2 separate regions of the Homo sapiens genome follow, and region 2 is linked to region 1. The links are contacts of gene promoters, found by promoter capture Hi-C in blood cells and fetal thymus (Javierre and others, 2016). All regions are on one chromosome and are shown on one strand. Each heading gives the region's core, a stretch centred on a gene start or on the middle of the fragment in contact. The rest is flanking DNA. Distances are from core to core; before and after follow the strand shown.

Region 1 (3,014 bases), core at 292-2,791:
CTCTCTTACTAAAACAAATAAACCAAACTTGCTTACATTTTGAGAAAGAGATAGTGGCATCTTGGGTTTTCCCAGTCTCTGGGAATAAAAGTCTAACAGGAGGGAGTCAGGAAGACACAAATCAAGAAGCTCAGGAAGGTTGGGAGTGGTGGCAGGGAAACATTTCAGTTTAGCAAACATCCAATACGTTTGCGATCCTGAAAGGAAGGAAAATGTTCCTTAGATCCAGCCCTGCAATCTGCTGGGGTAGTTTGAGGTTTGTTTGCTCAGCCACATGCTGAGTGATCGTAGGCAAGTCCCTCAGTTTCCTCCTCTGCAAAACGGAGATAATTAAAGCATTTACCTTTTAGGGTTGTTGTGAGGGTGTGTGCAAATACATGTTAAGAGTGTTTAGGACAATGCCAGGCACAGAATGAGCCCCTATATTGCTATTATTATGTTGCTAACATTGCCTTAACAGTTCTGGAGGTTAGAATATGGGGAGGCAGTGGTGGTGAGAGGGAGTTAACTAGCCTGGGGGTGGGAGGGTCAACCTGTCCAAAATGTTGGTTTCTATGGGTATGTCTGCAAAACAAGTGAACATTATCCTTGCAGCTTACCCCACAGCTGCTTAACGTGTTTGGATGCATGCTTCAGGCAGCGGCCTTGCAAACCCTTTTTTTTTTTTTTTTTTTTTTTTTTTGAGACGGAGTTTCACTCTTGTTGCCCAGGCTGGAGTGCAGTGGCGCCATCTCGACTCACTGCAACCTCCACCTCCCAGGTTCAAGTGATTCTCCTGCCTCAGCCTCCCGAGTAGCTGGAATTACAGGCGCCCACAACCAAACCCGGCTAATTTTTGTATTTTTAATAGAGGCAGGGTTTCACCATATTGGTCAGGCTGGTCTCGAACTCCTGACCTCAGGTGATCCACCCCCTCCCCTCAGCCTCCCAAAGCGCTAGGATTACAGGCGTGAGCCACCAGGACCGGCGCAAACCCTCCTTCTAATCATTCTTCTACTGAGGATGGGGGATGGAGAGGTGGGAGGAGGCAAAATCGTGCATTTCCTTTACTGAAACAAAAATTTTTATACCCTCCAATTTCTTTTTCTGCAAAGAAAAGGCCTTTTCTAGCCACTAGATATAAAACCTTGCTCTCCAAAGAGCTGAGAGTAGCTGTTTAACAGCAAAATCTGCAATTCTGATGGAAAAGGCTGGAGGCAGACACGAGGCTCTCCATCTCCATCTTTCCCTTGTCCACTCTGAATGCAGGATGTCATCCCAGCAAACGCCGCTCTGATTTGATGAACTACACAATCTCCTCCCTCAGTACTCCCTTCCCCTTACTGATAGCCAAACATTCTAATCCCCTACGCATCCTTCGTCTGACCCCAGCCTCCACCTCAAGGATTTTAGCAGGACGCCCTCCCACAACTGGCAATACCAAATCTCGGGTTGGCGGCAGGCGGCCGAGCCGACATCAAAACTGTACTCACCGAGGGGCAGCCCGAGGAGCCTACTGCGGTATGGGCCTTGGTGGGGGTCAGGCCAGGAACGGGCGAACTGGAGAGCTAGTGCGTCACCCTCCTCCGCATCTTAGCTCCGCCCCGGCCCCTCCTCCAGCAGGTGGAAGCTGCCTCGCCAGGACTCCCCAGACTGCATCCCAGATAAGTGTGCCTCTCACCAGGAGCCGCACAGCTCTTCAACCCCCACATTCTGCATACAAACCTCTTGACTATGACATTTCCTAGAGACCCTCTTCAGCTCCATCGACCTCCATGTAAGTCATTCACCTCCTCAGTCTCAATTACAACGTGCCAGATCACCACTACAGCACACCTTTAATTTTGTCAACTTCTAGAATATGTTTTTTGTTTTTGTGTCTAAAGCCTTTCAGCTTCAAGAGGGAAGAGGCAATGAATGGTAGAGAGACAAAAGATGAAGTCCTAAGAACTTTTAATGGTGGCTATGATAAGGTATACCCTGCTCTGAGGGGCCTCTTACTAATCAGGAAAACTATGGGGATATTTAATACAAGAAGCCAGAAACTTCCATTAAAGTGATAAACTTGAAAATCTGTAGAAATATCAGCTCTGAGTGTTATTTCTAAACGTCCACACAAACCATCAAGTAAAATTCCACTTTGGCCTGAAGAGAAACCATACTCCCAGCATACTGTAGAAGTATGTCCAGGTAGTCCCAGATTCTTAAATAAGGGTTTATGGAGCACCTACTATGTGCAATCTTGAACACTGAAATTTGTTCAAATACTAAAATCAAAATGTAAAGCCATACAATAAATATGGCACTACAAATTTGATCAAGATGGAGGATGAGTAAAGAACCTGGGGGTCTCAAAACAAGTAACCTGATGAGGTTAGAATCCAGATCTATTTATCTTAGCTCTAGAGAGCAAATCCATTATCATCTACAGCAATTTTTATGCAATAAATAGAGGCTGGCAAAATTCATTTATGAGACACATGGCCTTTCATTTTGAAGCCAAGCCTCTTTCCCAGTACTTTTTCTTTCACGGATGCTCATCTGCTTCTTGCTTCTTGTTTCAATGCATGCTAAATCAACAGGACAAACACTATCCATTAAATGGCTCTAGGCTCACTGGCCATGCTGGAGTTAGTATTTATTATTGATGCACAGAGACTTTTTTCAATTCTGAGTTTTACTTTAGCTTTGTTCATTGTTATCTTCATTTTGTGGTTGAAAAAAATGAAGTCACTACAATTTACTGCTTTTGTGTTAAATTTAACTGAAATAGATCAAAATGCCTATGCTTCATTTGAAATTTGGTGTTTCAAAAATAAAACTTCATATATATTTAAGAGATCACAGAGGTTAGGTGCAGTGGCTCACGCCCATAATCCCAACACTTTGGGAGGCCAAGGTGGGAGGATCACAAGGTCAGGAGTTCGAGATCAGCCTGGCCAATATGGTGAAATCCCGTATCTACTAAAACTACAAAAATTAGCTGGGCGTGGTGGTGCATGCCTGTAGTCCCAACTACTTGGGAGGCTGAGGCA
Region 2 (3,478 bases), core at 979-3,478, 580 kb before region 1:
CTAACTTAAGGATTTTCAGATCCTGAATTTATCAGCCCCACTGAGCAGACACAGAAGAGTGGAGAGAGCTATAGCAGTGTCTTTCAGCAGTTCTTAGGAGTTCAGGGGTGGAAAGATGGGGCGAGGGCGAGGGCTAGGGCCGTGTGGTGGATGGGGAAAGTCTAAGAGAGTCTGATGGGCAAGGAAATAGATTTCCTGGATATGAATCCTTGCCTTTGCTAGAATTTCTCTGCTGAAAATGTAGGTGGTTAGGAGATTTCCTACCTTCCAGGTCAGCTAAACCTGGAACTACATTTACAGTCAACTTTAAACAAAACCCCCTGACAGTTTACACCCTACACAGTCCACAGTCAGTACTGTAGTCTGGAAATAAGAGATGAATCTAAGGTTTGGATGCTGAAAGATTCACCTGTCTCTCCAGGCATGGTCTGAGTATTTCTAATCTAGAGAATTTATAAGTCAACAATGGGCCTGAAATATAGTCTTCCAGTGACTTCTCATGTAATGGAAAACTCATCTTCTCCCCAAGGTTTTATCCTACTGGGAAGATCACCAGTGATCAATCTTAAAAGAGAAAATGTCCATTAGGAATTTTTATGTCCCTTCACCTGCATTACTTTGCTAGGAAAAATAGGCATGAGAGGATTGTATATTTTATTATATAATCCTACTTCAAAAGAGTTTATATTCTATTCACAAGGAAAAAGGAAAGTACTAACAAATGCAAAGAAGCATGAGGGAAGTGTCATCAAGATAATACAAAAAGGCTCAAAGGAAAAAGATGAACAAAAAGGAGCTAATGGGAGAGGTGTCATTTGATACAGGAATTGACCAAGAGATATGATTTCAACTCATGGAGATGGAGGAGGAAGGGCCTTCTAACTGAGGAAAGGTAAAAGACGGAAATTAAAATGTGCCCTCAGGCTTTAAATATCTTAATTGCCTGGGGGAGAGGCTAGAGGTAAATTGATCCTTCGATTATTTGGAGTTCATTATCCCAGCAGAGAAAGTCTTACAGCAGCTTACTTGATTACTAGTTGTTCAAGAAACTTTATTTATTATCCACTTATATCTGGTATGCAAGAAAGAGTTTAAAAGAATCAATAAACTTTGGTCTCCAGTGGATTAGGTATTGACACGACTGCGGAAGAAGAGAAAGTACAAGATAGTCCTGAGGGCTCCCCAAGGGTAAACCTTCTAAATGTTTAAACCTTCAAAACCATTGATTCCCAGAAATACTCAGAACAAAGTGAAGTATTTGCAAGAGAGAGAGAGAGAAAATTTTGTGGGCCTCCGGAAGAGGAATCCTGTTACTTCCTTTATAGCTGATTCTCAACCCTAGTAACACATCAGAATCACCCAGGGACAGTTTAAAATATTCATGCCTGGGCCCCAACTCCAGATATCTTGATTTTATTTAGGGGTATTGGTATCTTTGAAAAGCTCCTCCAGGTGATTCCATCACTAGATAGAACGTCTTGACTGTGAGTTTTCCAGGTTCTTGGCGTATTGAACAAAGAATTGAACAAAATGCACAAACAAAGCAACAAAAGAAGCAACAAAAGACAAAATAAAAGAGTAGAGTAATAAAGGCATAAATTTATTGAAGATGCAAAAGTACGATTAACAGAGTGGGAGCAGACTTGAGCAAGTGGCTCAAGAGCCTCCCTATTGCAATGCTCCCCAGGGTATTTATAAAGCCAAAAGAACTTGGCAATACCCCTAGGTGCCCTCTAGAGGCCTCCAACTGGTGGCAGTCTATGAAAAATTGACCTGAGGCCAATCAGAGTCTGAAGTGGAAACTTCTGTCTTGTTATCACAGGAAGGAGGATGTGGCTTGTATGCTGCCCAATCTTGGCTAGAACTGCCTGCACCTGCTGTTCTTTTGCTTATGCCTTAATCTTTGGTTACCCTAATTCCCTTTTCTCCTGCCTTAATTCCAATGTACAGCCAAGGCTGCAAACCACTGCTCTGAAAGCACTTTTGGTAACCTCCAGACTCCTTATATAAAGACAAGAGAGAACTGGGGAGAGTTATTTCCAAATTGGGAAAATTCCTTCTATGTAGGAAGAAAAAGTGGACCTTAATATGAAGCCACCCTTCCTGATTATTTTTTCATATTTGTAGCTGCTTTGGCATCTTCAGCCTTGAATTCCAACTGGGTCTGTATTTGCTCCTACCTACCTTACATTGATTATAACAGTCTCTTTAATATATTGGGTTCTTCCCACTACGTGGAGAGAATATAGAAATCAGGGTAAAGCTACAAATTGCCCCTTTCCCGACATGGTAGGCTGAATAACAGCCCCCCCAAAGATGTTGTCAGCCCAGGCAGCCATAATAAAATACCATAAACTATCAAATATTTATTTTTCACGGTTCTGGAGATTGGAAATACAAGATCAGGGTGCCAGCAGGGTTGAGTTAAGGTGAGAGCCCTCTTCTGGGTTGCAGGCTGCTAACTTGTATCCTCACACAGAGGAAAGAGCTGGCTGGCTCTCTGGCCTGTTCTTATAAGGGCACTAATCCTCAAGGGCTCTGCCTTCATGAACTAATTACCTCCCCAAAGCCCCACACACAAATACCATCACAGTGAGATTAGAGTCTTAACATAGGAATTTTAGAGGGAACACATTCAGTCCATTGCAAATGTGACAACATAGAATCCAGAACATGTGAATATGTTCCCTCCTGTGGGCCTCTGCAGAGGTGATTAATGATTTTAAGATGGTGAGAGTCCCTTGAATTTTCCAGGTGAGCCCAGTGTGATCACAAAGGGGAAAGGAGAATCGGAGTTTAAGAAGGTATGACAACAGAAGCAGAGATTTGAGTGATACAAGTGCTGGCTTTGAAGAAAGAAGCCAGCCTCTTGGCCATGGACCAAGAAAGGCAGACAGCCTTGAGAAGCTGCTAAATATCTTACACACATTATCTTACTTAATCTTTGCAATGACCCTATTCCCCAGGTCCCTTCATTACCCTCATTTCATGGAGGAAGAGCCAGAGACTCAGAGTTAAGAATTGTTTTCCTGGCCAGGTGCAGTGGCTCACACCTGTAATCCCAGCACTTTGGGAGGCTGAGGTGGGTAGATCACTTGAGGTCAGGAGTTCGAGACAAGCCTGGCCAATATGGTGAAACCCCGTCTCTACCAAAAAATACAAAAATTAGCCAGGCGTGGTGGCGTGTGCCTGTAGTCCCAGCTACTCAGGAGACTGAGGCAGGAGAATCACTTGAACCTGGGAGTTGGAGGTTACAGTGAGCTGAGATCATACCACTGCATTCCAGCCTGGGCAACAAAGTGAGACTCCGTCTCAAAAAAAAAAAAAAAAAAAGTGTGTTTCTAGAAGCTAAAATGCCACTAAGTATAAAATGCAACATTATATGTGCCACTAAGAAAAATGACTGCTAATTAAACTATGATATGTCATCAACAAACATAACACATGCCATTTCTCATTTAAAAACTATAAAATAAAT

What was found. The method cuts DNA at HindIII sites, captures the fragments that hold promoters and counts their contacts. A CHiCAGO score of 5 or more calls a contact.
Region 2: a fragment that was not itself captured here is called in contact with the fragment with the promoter of SCG5 in region 1 in 3 of 17 cell types (M0 macrophages, monocytes and fetal thymus); the score reaches 5.6 in M0 macrophages.

Annotation. Positions count from the first base shown.
Region 1 is chr15:32,640,237-32,643,250 of GRCh38, reverse strand. It overlaps SCG5 (secretogranin V), which reads right to left and starts at 1,541. Exons shown (of 6, transcript NM_001144757.3): 1 at 1,473-1,541. All of the region lies in intron 9 of ARHGAP11A-SCG5 (ARHGAP11A-SCG5 readthrough), which reads right to left. RefSeq lists enhancers at 769-1,407, 1,408-2,048. The HindIII fragment of the contact is 7,166 bases long and covers 1-3,014 here.
Region 2 is chr15:33,225,055-33,228,532 of GRCh38, reverse strand. No RefSeq gene overlaps it. Among named protein-coding and RNA genes, the nearest start is that of FMN1, 32 kb to the right of the region's middle. RefSeq lists an enhancer at 1,756-1,805. The HindIII fragment of the contact is 7,416 bases long and covers 1-3,478 here.